2 separate regions of the Homo sapiens genome follow, and region 1 is linked to region 2. Evidence: promoter capture Hi-C in 16 types of primary human blood cells and fetal thymus (Javierre and others, 2016). All regions are on one chromosome and are shown on one strand. The core of a region is centred on a gene start or on the middle of the fragment in contact, and the rest is flanking DNA. Distances in the headings are between cores, read along the strand shown. Region 1 holds the start of PILRB (paired immunoglobin like type 2 receptor beta). Region 2 holds the start of GAL3ST4 (galactose-3-O-sulfotransferase 4).

Region 1 (6,434 bases), core at 3,006-5,505, 190 kb after region 2:
TGTGAGTGTGTGAGCAACAGTACCCCATTCCAGTCGTTTCCTGCTGTGACTAAGTCAGCAACACAGTTCCTCTGACATGGGCCTTGGCTGTGCTTCTTTGGGGGTGAAGAGATTGGGGAGGAAGTCTCCACCCCTGGGAGGCAGAAGCCAGGTGAGAACCAGAGTGGGTTGGGGCCTCCTTGCAGGGCTGGGTTTGGCCCAGGGAGAGGGCAGTGTCCCAGTCTTAGAGATCTGTCCTGGCTTCTTGGGGTGGCGGGGGGTTGGGGGAGCTTCCTGAGGGACACCTGTGGCTTCCTAGACAGAATTGGGGGATCCCAGCGGGATGGTCCCTGCTGCAATCCCACCATGTCCTAGGACAGCAGCAAGGGTTCCTGGGGCTTCAGCCTGAGAAAAGTCCCTGTGATTTGACCTGGCGTCCCTCTGCCGGGCTCCCTGCTGTGGCCTGGGCTAGAGTCCTGATGCCCTCCTTCCACAGCTGGCATCAGGCAGGGCTGGAAAGTAGGAGGACTTGCCTGAAATCTGGCTGGATTTCAGAGCCTTGCTCTGTCACCCAGGCTGGAGTGCATTGGCACGATCTTGGCTTACTTCAACCTCCACCTCCCGGGTTCTAGTGATTCTCCTGCGTCAGCCTCCCGAGTAGCTGGGACTACGGATGTGCACCATCGTGTCCGCTAATTTTTGTATTTTTTTTTTTTTTTTCAGTAGAGACGGGTTTCACCATGTTTGGCTGGGCTGGTCTCGAACTCCTGACCTCAGGTGATCCACCCACCTTGGCCTCCCAAAGTGCTGAGATTACAGACTTGAGCCACGGTGCCCCGCCTGAATAGGAGCTTCTTAATCAAAATTTCAGCATGGCTCTGGGTCAAAATTGACCAGCTGATTTAATAAGTTGATGTAAAAATTTTACAGTCAGCTACCCCTGGGAGGGGGAGTCTCTCCCTAGTCAGTGAGGCACCAGATGCCAGAGCATTGGCAATGTACAAGGGGCTCAGCCCTGTGGCTCATATGTGTAATCCCAGCACACTGAGAGGATGCCTTGAGCCTGGGAGATTGAGGCCAGCCTGGGTAACAGTGACACCACGTCTCTGCAAAAAAGAAAATTAGGGGAGAACTGTGGTGCGTGCCTATAGTCCCACCTACAGGCAGAGCGAGACCATGTCCCCCACTAAAAAGAGGCCAAGAATGCAGGAAATATAGATAATATGGGCCCTGTGATGGGTGGAGGCCAAATAGATCAATACAGAATTGAAGAAGACACAGAGCACTTGTATTTCCCTTCAGGCATAGCGCGCTGGCTAGGACTCCAGTACCGTGAAGGGAGGCAGTGAGAGCAGACATCTGTGCCTCATTCCTGATCTCAAGGGGAAAGCAAGAACAAGGTGGGTGCCAAGGAGGGGCAAGGGGCTGGGGCAGGCATAGACGTGGCTGGTGAGGAAAGGAGGATAGTTGTTGGGGGAAGGTGGGGACATACAAGCAGCAGTTCTCAAAATGGGCAGGGTCCTGGCCCCCTCCCTGCCTCTGCTGAACACTGCATCCCATGCCTCTCCCATGGCCACCTGCTGGGCTAACGGGCTGGATTTAGACTCTGCCCATGTTGGAATCATGCCCTCCTCCAGGGCCGGTGCCTCCCAAAACCCCCCTCTGAGAGAGAGCCACAGCCCCAGGCTTAGCCCCAGGCCCTGTCACTGCTGTTGGGGGAGGGAGGATGAACCATCCGGGAGGCCTCACACCATTCCAGAGCAGAAATCCTGACACAAAAGGAATCTCCCATGGGGGTTCAGCTGGGTCCAGAGCCCGGAAAGTGACATAAACACGCACCTTGCATCTAAGGAGAATGCACGTGGCGGTACCGGGCCTGAGGCCCCTGGGGAGTATGTACCCTCCAGAGCTACCCAGAGGCTGTTGGCTAAAAGTTCTATGTGGCCCCCTCCTTGGGCAGCCTGGTAAGCAGGTGACCTTCTAGCTGGGTCCCATGGGCCACGGGCAAGGCAGGAATGGAACGAAGAGTCAGTCCTCAGTGGCTGGGTGTTGTATCCCATGCCTATAATCCCAGCACTTTGGGAGGCTGAGGTGGGCAGATCACTTGAGGCCAGGAGTTTGAGACCAGCCTGGCCAACATGGTGAAACCCTGTCTCTACTAAAAATATAAAAATTAGCTGGGTGTGGTGGCACACACCTGTAATTCCCAGCTACTTGGAAGGCTGAGGCAGGAGAATTACTTGAACCCAGGAAGCAGAGGTTACCGTGAGCCAAGATCACACCATTGCACTCCAGCCTGGGCAACACAGCGAGAATCCATCTCAAAAAAAAAAAACAAAAAGTCCTCAGGCAGGGTGGGCCACCCTCTTGAGGCCTTGCCCAAACAGCCAGGGGGTCCCTTGTCCTCTTTTCGGCCCACCTTTGCAGGTGGGACCAGTTCAGTCCAAAGCCCCGGTGCCTCAGTTTCCCTGTGGGTTGAACAAGGAGAATGAGGTGTATAGGGCCTGGCTCAGACGGAGGGGTTTCCTGAGCATGGGGAGCCTGTTTCCTCAGACCTGTGAAGGGAAGGAGGGTGGATCGGCCTGACTGGCCCTGGGAAGCACAGAGGAGCCTACTGGGACCAGGGAAGAGACTGACAAGAGAAGGGAGGCCTGTCCCTGCCTGCTTCTGTCTCAAGAAGATTGTTATCACTTCCTCTGGTGAAATCCTGCCTTCCTGTCCCCACGGCCCCTCAGCTGATGCCACCTTACTCTGGAGAGGATGGGCAGAGCCTCCTATGGAGGGAGCCCTGTGGGTCACCAAAGCTCCAGTGACCACCCCCGGGCAAAGACCTGCAGATCCCCTGTTAGAGACGGGCCCAGGACTTTGTGCGGGGTGCCCACTGTTGCTCTGAGCCTTCACTTCCTCAGGGAGGCTTCCTCAGGATCTCGAACCTGCGGAAGGAGGACCAGTCTGTGTACTTCTGCCAAGTCCAGCTGGACATACAGATCAGGGAGGCTGTCGTGGCAGTCCATCAAGGGGACCCACCTCACCATCACCCAGGGTGAGTCCAGCTGCCCTGGCACCAAGGAACCTTCCTGGTTCAGCCATAGGCTCAGGTGTGTGGAGGGAATGACCTGAGGGGCTGTATGAGGGAACAACCTCCTGGGGCTCCCCTATGCCTGAGTTCCTGCAACTCAGAAGTTGAGGCCCAGAGATCCAGGTAGAGGGGGCTCCAGTCCTGGGACTGCCCTGCAAGTCATGTGGCCTGGGACAGGGCTTCTCCAAGCTCTGTCCCCTCCTGTGTAGGGCAGGGAGGTCAGAGGGGACCCTGCAGATCCAGTCTCATGTCTGGGGGTCAAGGGGTGGCCTCGAGAGGGACCAGTCTCTGTGTAGGGGACCGTCAGCCCCCTCACCCCTTGAGCAAGACTGTGGTCCCTGCACCAAGGGAGCAGGCCTGGGGTGGGAAGAGGCCAGCTGGGCTGTGGTGGTGCCTGGGGACTGCATGGGAGCCCCTGCCAGGGAGGGAGAGGGACAGAGGACAAGCTGGGGGCTCTGGTGCTTGGGCTGGGGGCTGAGCGCCTGTGACCTCCACTGGCTTCCTCCTTCTCCTCTCTGAGGACTGAATCTGGGGTGCAGCAGAGCACAGACTCAGGCCCGCCTTTCCTCTCCCTGAAAGAGCCTGCGCTGGCCTTGGACAGAGAAAGGGATGAGAAGTGAGGCTGAGTGCGGTGGGGTCTGCAGGGATCCAGGTGGGAGGGGCCCAGCCAGCCAAGGTGAGGCCCAGCCCCTCAGCAGGAAGATGGGCACTGGGGCCCTTGGGCAGGGCTGACTTGACACTTTTGTGTGACTTGAGCCACTGTGCCCAGCCTGAACACCCTTTCCTGGTAAAACACTCCACAAACCAGGAAGAGAAGGAATGTACTGCAACAAAATAAAGGCCAGTCATGCAAGGCCCATGGCTGAAAGTCTTTCAGTCATTTTAGATGAAAGACTGAAATCTTTGCCTCCAAGATCAGGAACAAGAGAAGGATGCCCGCTCTCACTACTTCTATTCAACACAGGATTTGAAGTCAGGCCGGGCACAGTGGCTCACGCCTGTAATCCCAGCACTTTTGGAGGCTGAGGCGGGCAGATTACTTGAGCCTATGAGTGTGAGACCACCCTGGCCAACATGGCAAAACCCCATCTCTACTAAAAAAAAAAAAAAAAAAAGGATTTGAAGTCCTGGCCGGAGCAATTAGGCAAGGGATAAAAAGGCACCTAAGGCCCTTTTGCAATAAGAAGCCAGATGGATAAAGGAAGTGCTGGTCACCCTGGAGGTGTACTGGTTTGGGGAAGGTCCCCGGCCCCCACAGCCCTCTGGGGAGCCTCACCCTGGCTCTCCCCACTCACCTCAGCCCTCAGGCAGCCCCTCCACAGGGCCCCTCTCCTGCCTGGACAGCTCTGCTGGTCTCCCCGTCCCCTGGAGAAGAACAAGGCCATGGGTCGGCCCCTGCTGCTGCCCCTGCTGCTCCTGCTGCAGCCGCCAGCATTTCTGCAGCCTGGTGAGTACCCAGGACCGCCCAGGTATGGTCTCTGCCCAAACCACAGGAGGGGCCAACCCAAGACAAAGGCAGAACATCTGGGGCAGGGGCCAGGCTCCCACCTCCAGCAAACAAGGGCGGGTCCCATAGGGGTGGGTGCCGCCATCTCTTCCCCCTCCACCCTCCCCCATGCCTGAAGAGTGGGAGACCCAGGCCAGAGGTCAGTCCAGCCACCTGTCACACGACTGCCTGTGGGTGAAGGTGTGGGAGGGTCTGGGGTCACCCTCTTTGTGTCCTGAGGTGGTTTCAAGGTCTCTCCCCCACTCACTCCCTCCTTCCTCTAGGTGGCTCCACAGGATCTGGTCCAAGCTACCTTTATGGGGTCACTCAACCAAAACACCTCTCAGCCTCCATGGGTGGCTCTGTGGAAATCCCCTTCTCCTTCTATTACCCCTGGGAGTTAGCCATAGTTCCCAACGTGAGAATATCCTGGAGACGGGGCCACTTCCACGGGCAGTCCTTCTACAGCACAAGGCCGCCTTCCATTCACAAGGATTATGTGAACCGGCTCTTTCTGAACTGGACAGAGGGTCAGGAGAGCGGCTTCCTCAGGATCTCAAACCTGCGGAAGGAGGACCAGTCTGTGTATTTCTGCCGAGTCGAGCTGGACACCCGGAGATCAGGGAGGCAGCAGTTGCAGTCCATCAAGGGGACCAAACTCACCATCACCCAGGGTGAGTCCAGCTGCCCTGACACCTGCCTTGCCCACCGCAGTGAGGGTTTTGGTGACCACTGATGTCTTCACATTTAAACCCAGTGGTCTGGATTGAGAGCTGTTAGCATTTCACCTTGCTACCCCTTCCATGTCTGGGCTTCTGAGAGCAGCTTGCTCATCCTGAATGTCCCCAATCTAGAAAGCAGCACACCATGCCTTTCATCCAGACGCCCCACACCCCCAGAAGAGGGTCTGCTCATTCCTCATCTCTTCCAGCTGTCACAACCACCACCACCTGGAGGCCCAGCAGCACAACCACCATAGCCGGCCTCAGGGTCACAGAAAGCAAAGGGCACTCAGAATCATGGCACCTAAGTCTGGACACTGCCATCAGGGTTGCATTGGCTGTCGCTGTGCTCAAAACTGTCATTTTGGGACTGCTGTGCCTCCTCCTCCTGTGGTGGAGGAGAAGGAAAGGTAAGTGCCCAGAACGCACTGTCTCCTCAAGCTTCCCAGCTGGGGGTTTCTCTGAGCCCACCTGCAGCTAAGGGACTTCAGAAATATGCAGACCCTGCTGGCTCCCCTCAAGCCCACCAAGGCCGACTCTGGCCTGTGCTGGGGCGTCTGCATCTCGGGGGCCTCCTGCAGTGGGGTGGTGCAGGGTCACATGTGAGAACCCCCAGCCTGGGCGCGGTGGCTCATGCCTGTAATCCCAGCACTTTGGGAGCCCAAGGCAGGTGGATCACAAGGCCAAGAGATCAAGACCATCCTGGCCAACATGGTGACACCCCATGTCTACTAAAAATACAAAAATTAGCTGGGCATGGTGGCACACGCTTATAGTCCCAGCTACTCAGGAGGCTGAGGCAGGAGAATCGCTTGAACCCGGGAGGCAGAGGTTGCAGTGAGTCAAGGTCGTGCCACTGCACTCCAGCCTGGTGACAGAACAAGACTCTGTCTCAAACAAACAAACAAACAAACAAAAAAAGCCCCCAGCCCTCTCCACACAGCTGGATCCCCCCAACTTCTCTCTCAGTCATCAATCATCCACGCTCCCCTGAAGGTTCCTGGGGAGGGGAGGGCCTGCCCTGGGAAAAGAACAGAGAGAGGAGAAGGGACCAGAATTGGGCTGAGCTCAGCAGGCACTGGCTGACTGCCCTCCTGCCACGGCCTGGCTTGAAACTGGAGAAGCAAAGTATATAAAGCATAGGCTCTGCTCTCAGGGAACTGGGGGT
Region 2 (6,502 bases), core at 3,780-6,279:
AGGCAGCATATCATAGCTCACTGCAGCCTTGAAAACTCCTGGGCTCAAGGGATTCCCCAATCTCAGCCTCCTGAATAGCTGGGACTACAGGCACACACCAACATTCCCTGTTAATTTTTAATTTTTTTGTAGTGATGGGGTCTTGCTATGTTGCCCAGATTGGCGTTGAACTCCTGGGCTCAAGTAATCCTCTCACCTCAGCATCCAAAACACTCGGATCACAGGCATGAGCCACCATGCCTGGCCCTGCAGGTCTCTTTGAAGGCAGAGGGGAAAGCGAAGAAAACAGTCTTTGGCATCTGGACCTGGAATAAAATCCCACTCTGCCATTTACTAATTCTGTGACTTTGGGCGGGTTATTGAAGGTCTCAGAGCCATCATTCCTCCATCTAGAAATCTGAGTAACTGGGTAACACTTACCTGGAAGAATGTGCAAGTGTCTGGAACATGGTAGGTATTCAGTGAATGGTGGCGTCAGTGAAGGCCATCATCCTAGCCTCTGGAGAAACCTACCTCAAAGGTCACTGTCATTGCCTCACTCCTGGCAGTGGCCTTTCGCTGCCCATCAGAGCACGCCCATGTCCTCAGCTGGTGTCTCCAGCTCCAGCTTCAACAAGGGTGACTTTGCAGCCCCTGTGGAACTTCTACCCCCAGTACAGACGTTCTCCCTCTTACATGCACACACACACGTGCACCCCACCATGTCCTTGCTGGTGTTTTGCTCCCTCTAAGAATGCCTCATGCTGTCCTTACCACAAGCCACATCCACCTTTTCCTTTAAAACCCCCCGCTCTCGGCTGGGCACGGTGGCTGACACCTGGAATCCCAGCATTTTGGGAGGCTGAGGTGGGCGGATCACTTGAGGTCAGGAGTTTGAGACCAGCCTGGTCAACATGGCGAAACCCTGTCTCTACTAAAAGTACAAAAATTAGCTAGGCGTGGTGGCGGGTGCCTGTAGTCCCAGCTACTTGGGAGGCATGAGAATTGCTTGAACCCGGGAGGCAGAGGTTGCAGTGAGCTGAGATCGTGCCACTGCACTCCAGCCCAGGGGAAAGAGCAAGACTCTGTCTCAAAATAAATAAAATAAAAATCAAAATTAAATAATAAAGTAAAATAAACCCCCCTCTCCAGAAAGCATCACCTCTTTGGTGAATATTCTTCTCACCATTCCAGATACAAACACATGCACAAGCCTCGGAAGAAGCCTCGACTTTGGAGTGCATGGACCTGGGCTCAACTTCCAGCTCTGCCACTTTAATTTTCAATTTTATTTATTTATCTTTCTTTCCTTTTTTTTTTTTTTTTGAGACAGAGTCTCACTGTGTCACCCAGGCTGGAGTGCAGTGGCACGATCTCAGCTCACTGCAAGCTCCGCCTCCCAGGTTCATGCCATTTTCCTGCCTCAGCCTCCTGAGTAGCTGGGACTACGGGCACCCACCACCATGCCCGGCTAATTTTTTGTATTTTTAGTAGAAACGGGGTTTCACTGTGTTAGCCAGGATGGTCTCGATCTCCTGACCTTGTGATCCACCCGCCTTGGCCTCCCAAAGTGCTGGGATTACAGGCGTGAGCCACTGCGCCCGGCCTTTTTTTTCTTTTGTGAAATGGAGTCTCGCTCTGTTGCCCAGGCTGGAGTGCAGTGGCACAATCTCGGCTCACTGCAACCTCTGCCTCCTGGGTTCAAGCAATTCTCCTGCCTCAGCCTCCCGAGTAGCTGGGATTACAGGCGTGTGCCACCACGCCTGGCTAATTTTTGTATTTTTAGTAGAGACAGGGTTTCACCATGTTGGCCAGGCTGGTCTCGAACTTCTGACCTCAGGTGATCTGCCCACCTTGGTCTCCCAAAGTGCTGGGCTTAGTCCCGGGCTAAAAATACAGCTGATCCTCAAAATGTGAGGGGGTTGAAGAAGACAAGTCAGAAGGCAGTGGGGGAGGTGGGGCCCTGGTGTGACAGTGAAAGGGAGGCTAAGAAAGGGAAGGGGCGTGTTGTCCTAGGTACTTGCCAGGCTGAGGTGGGAGGATCATTTGAGGCCAGCCTGGGCAACATAGTGAGACTCCATCTCTACAAAAAATAAAATAAAAAAATAGCCAGGTGTGGTGGCATGCACCTGTAGTCCCAGCTAGTTGGGAGGCTGAGGTGAGAGGATCGCTTGAGCCCAGGAGTTTGAGGTTACAGTGAGCTATAATTGTACCACTGCATTCCAGCCTGGATGACAGAATGAGACCCTGTCTCACACACACACACACACACACACACACACACACACACACAGGCTGGGCAAGCTCACTCCTGTAATCCCAACCCTTTGGGAGGTCAAGGTGAGCAGATCACTTGAGCCCAGGACTATTTATTTATTTATTTAAGCCCAGGGGTTTGAGATCAGCCTGGGCAACATAGCAAGACCCCATCTCTACAAAAAATTAAAAAGTAGCCACGTGTAGTGGCACATGCCTTAGCCATAGCTACTCAGGAGGCTGAGGTGGGAGGATCACTTGAGCCTGGGAAGTCAAGGCTGCAGTGAGCTATGATTGTGCCACTGCACTCCAGCCTGGGCGACAGAGTAAGACCCTGTCTTCCAAAAAATAATTTAAAAACAGAAGAGTAAGGGGCACCTGGAGGGAGAGTTGGGGGCTCAGAGTTGGCAAGGCACTGATGCCAGGGAAATACATTGGTGAAAGAGAGAGACTGGAGTAAGCGCCAGAGAGAGAAGGGAGGAGGACTTGGGCTCCCAGAAACTACTGGGGAAGGGACACCTGTAGAGAGGATGGCAGGGAGCCCAACTTTGTGGCCCCTATGTCCAACTTTAGGGTGAGATGATGCCTGGGGAGCCCCCAGGTCTGGGCCCCCTCCCTTGGTGGTGTCAGCCTGAGCCCATCTGTTTCTGGTCCCTCCCACCACTGCGACACTCCTTACCTCTTTCAGGTTGAACCTCATGTGGTGACAGAGGATGTGGAAGGGGAGCTGGGTGCCTCCACCCTGTGGGCGGTAGCCTTTTACCCTAGAGGCCTGGAAGAGCTTTGGGTAGCCAAACTGGTAGCGGGCAGGGAGGGCGAAGCGCAGCCCGTGCTGGTCCCCATAGCGGTGAAGCAGGCTCAGCACAGAGCTGCTCCCGGATTTATGTGTCTTCAGGAACACCAGTCGCTGCCGGGGTGGGCAGGACGGAAGGGCTGGTCGTAGGGATGGGGCCGAGGGCTGTCGGAGCTGTAGCCCAGGTAGCCTGGGAAGAGATGGAGGGGGAGTGTCCTGTTCCTCAGCAGCAAATGGGTAGAAGGGACAGAGGGCATGGAGGCTTCTGAGTCCTCAGGAGTCACCAGCCCCAGGTGGGATGGGGAAGAGCAAGTACGGGGCGTCTAGAAGGAGTTGGGGCAAAGTGGGAACTCACCTCCTCTGGAAGGGCCCTCCCAAGAGCTGGAGTGCAAAGCCAATGGTCATGAAGACTCCCAGAGCCACCCCCAGGCTCCGAGGTCCCCAGAGCCGCAGCGTCCTGGCAGGAGAGAGAGGGCCCATGTGGCACAGGGAAGGGTGAGGTGACAGAGAGATGGAGCCAGGGCCAGGAAGAGGGGCAGAGACAGCTGGAGACAGCCGTGCAGCTGCGGAAGGCACTGGTTGGAGATCGGGGGGTCATTCCCCAGGCCTGCTCACAGTCTTGGTTGAGTCTGCCCCCTGAGTTAGCAGATTTTTGCCTCTGTCAGCGTCTAGAAGGGAAATGAGGGGGGAAGAAGGGAAGTCTAAGGAGAGAGGCAGAGGCAGCCTTCTCTCCTGCTGCAGCTGAGACCTCCTTCAGGGAAGGGGAGTGGCTGGGGATGTTGTCTATACCCAGACTCTCCTAGGTGGCCCCACAACTACTGTCTCTGCTCTATCACTTTCTTATCTCCAGTTCCTCCCGCTCCCCACCTACAGTTGTCCCTGAGCCTTGGGGATTTATAAGGGAAGGAGAGAAAAAGCCCCAGCTCGTGAATGAAACAGCCAGCAAGAGAGAGAGAGATCAGATCAATCAGCTCATTAACACAGTCAGGTCAGACCATGGTCGGGAACCTGGTTTCCTCCAGAGCCCCTCTGGCTGTCACAGATGGGGATAAAGAGCCCTATCCCAGGACCAGGAAGGGAAGCCATACAGTGGGAATGAGGATCAGACAGGACACAGGTGTATGAACCCAGGCAGGAGGAAGGGAGGTTGGACTTCCAGGAGTGGCATTGCAATGGGTAAGAGCCATTGGGTTATAAATTCCCGCGCCTCTTTTTTCTCTGTCTCAGCACGGGGCAGACCCCCATGTATGACAGGGGCTGGGGGAGACGTGTGGCTACTTATAAAGCCCAGATCCCTGGACTTACCCACCATTCCACTTTCCAACCTTATCAGTGCACCCGGAGGAGACTGAAAGGGTGGGGCTGGAGAGGGAGACAGAAAGAGAGAGAGACACACACACACACACACACACACACAGAGAAACAGAGAGAGAGAGACAGAGGGACAGAGAGACTATGACACAAAGATAAGGAGAAAGGCGCAAACACTAACTGCAGAGTTCCTTCTGAAGCCCGAGCTTCCTAATCAACCGGGAGTCCAGCCCCGCCCCTTCAGATTACAACTCGCGATCAGGGACCACGGCCCCTCCAACAAGCCCCGACAGCTCCCTGCTCCGATGAGCCAGGGGTAACCCCAAGCAGAGAGAAGCCACACTTTTACTCCCGGAGACCTGCCCTCTCTGGCATCACTCCCCAATTCCCTCCCTGATCACAGCCCCTGGGGTCTAGCCGCGTCTCCCCTATCCAGAGTTCTTCATTTCCTTCCATCCATCTCTCCCTTCCCATGATTGGAGATCCCAGCCCTCTGTCCCCTCCAGCTTTGGTGACTGCCCAGTTGCCCCCGCTGGGGTTCCATGAACCCCTCATGTCTCCTCCCATAAATTAGAGGGTCCCTCCACTGGTCCTATCCTTGGTTTCACTTCCCACTCACCAGGCCACAAGGGGAGCAGCAAGGGAAATCGGGCCGGGCCCTCCCGCCCATCCCAGCCACCGCCCGACTCTTGGCTCAGCTCAACTTTCCCCAAGAACTTTCTCAGCGCCCAGGCTCCTCCCTCCTCCCTTTGTGCCGCCAGCCCCAGCAGCTGCTGCAGCTTTGATCGCGGTTCTAGGTCTCTCCCTCGCTGCATCTTCCCCTCTTCGGCAGGGCACCCAGACTCCTCTTGGAAGACACCACTTCCGCCCCCGCTTTCACACTTGGGAATCAATCCTACCATTTTCTCTTGGCTTGCCGCAGAACAAAAGATTCATTCAGGCGGTGGAAAGAAAGAAGGAAGGAAGGAGAAAGTGATATTTGAAAGCAGACATTGTCAAGGACGTGGCAAGGTAGCCAGAGACTGACACTCAGAGAACAAGGCCTCCCATCCTGAAGGCAGGGGGCAGTGGTGTGGTCACCTTAATAATGCTTCGTGGCCGGGTGCGGTGGCTCACGCCTGTAATCCCAGCACTTTGGGAGGCTAAGGCTGGTGGATCGCTTGAGGTCAGGAGTTTGCGATCAGCCTGGCCAACATGGTGAAACCCCGTCTCTACTAAAAATACAAAAATTAGCTGACTGTGGTGGCAGGCGCCTGTAATCCCAGCTACTCAGGAGGCTGAGGCAGGAGAATCATTTGAACTGGGGAGGCGGAGGTTGCAGTGAACTGAGATCGCGCCATTGCACTCCAGCCTCGCGACAACAGCGAGACTCTATCTCAAAAAAAAAAAAAAAAAAGCCTCATGTTCAAAGAGCATTTTGCAGGTGACAAGGTGCTTTTTCACACAGATTCTATTTGGTCCCCACAATTCTCCCTGTTGTACAAACGAAGATGCTCAGAGGCCCAGAGGGTGGGCAATTTGGAGATCAGAGGTTATTGTCTAGGCCCGCCTCCTGGGGGACAGGTGCCAAGGGAAGTGAAAAGCCGGCAGAAAATGAGCCAGTCACAGAGGCTCTGAGACCTCTGCTAGGAGCCAGGGCTCAGGCACTGATGGTGACAGCACAGAAGCCACACATGGGGTCCAATACATTACCATTTATTTGCAGAATAAACATGGACTCAAACACTGAAACATGGAGTTTGTGAAGGATGTGGGTGGCAGAGGTCACGAGATGAGCACCCCCCCACCTTGTTTTTTTTAAAATTTGGTTTAAGAAATTGATACTGAAAAAACTCAACAGAACCCAGGCCCATGAAGTCTCACATCCTACTCAAGCACCCTCAGTCCCCTGCCCTGCATCCAGCTGGTCCATTTCTGAGACCAGATGCCCCCACCCCTCCCCACTTCCAACTTCCTTCAAACCCCTTCCCCAGCTGCAACTCTAAACTCCTCATTTTCTCTGTTGGGGCTGATCACCAGCCCCAGCCTTAGAGGGCTAGAGACTATACCTTCTAAGGAAACCACACTCCCTCCTAAATAAATACCCCCAGGCCCCCCTCCCATTACCAAATGAAAAAATAAATATTGTGAACACCCACCCACCTCTGATGAAAATCTCCTGGA

The links. Contacts are between HindIII fragments. The CHiCAGO score rates a contact against its expected background, and 5 or more counts as called.
Region 1: a contact is called between the fragment with the promoter of PILRB here and the fragment with the promoter of GAL3ST4 in region 2, in 3 of 17 cell types (total B cells, total CD8 T cells and naive B cells). The highest score is 6.9, in total B cells.

The regions. Positions count from the first base shown.
Region 1 is chr7:100,353,862-100,360,295 of GRCh38, forward strand. PILRB (paired immunoglobin like type 2 receptor beta) reads left to right here and starts at 4,256. Exons shown (of 4, transcript NM_178238.4): 1 at 4,256-4,505; 2 at 4,829-5,218; 3 at 5,476-5,676. The coding sequence starts at 4,442. STAG3L5P-PVRIG2P-PILRB (STAG3L5P-PVRIG2P-PILRB readthrough) reads left to right here. Exons shown (of 17, transcript NR_036570.1): 12 at 1,282-1,379; 13 at 2,889-3,022; 14 at 4,359-4,505; 15 at 5,038-5,218; 16 at 5,476-5,676. It overlaps MIR6840 (microRNA 6840), which reads left to right and starts at 2,790; the gene lies at 2,790-2,860. It also overlaps the pseudogene PVRIG2P. The HindIII fragment of the contact is 11,655 bases long and covers 1-5,705 here.
Region 2 is chr7:100,163,588-100,170,089 of GRCh38, forward strand. GAL3ST4 (galactose-3-O-sulfotransferase 4) reads right to left here and starts at 5,030. Exons shown (of 4, transcript NM_024637.5): 1 at 4,959-5,030; 2 at 3,384-3,696; 3 at 2,915-3,218. The coding sequence starts at 3,508. It overlaps GPC2 (glypican 2), which reads right to left. Exons shown (of 10, transcript NM_152742.3): 10 at 6,019-6,502. The HindIII fragment of the contact is 24,826 bases long and covers 1-6,502 here.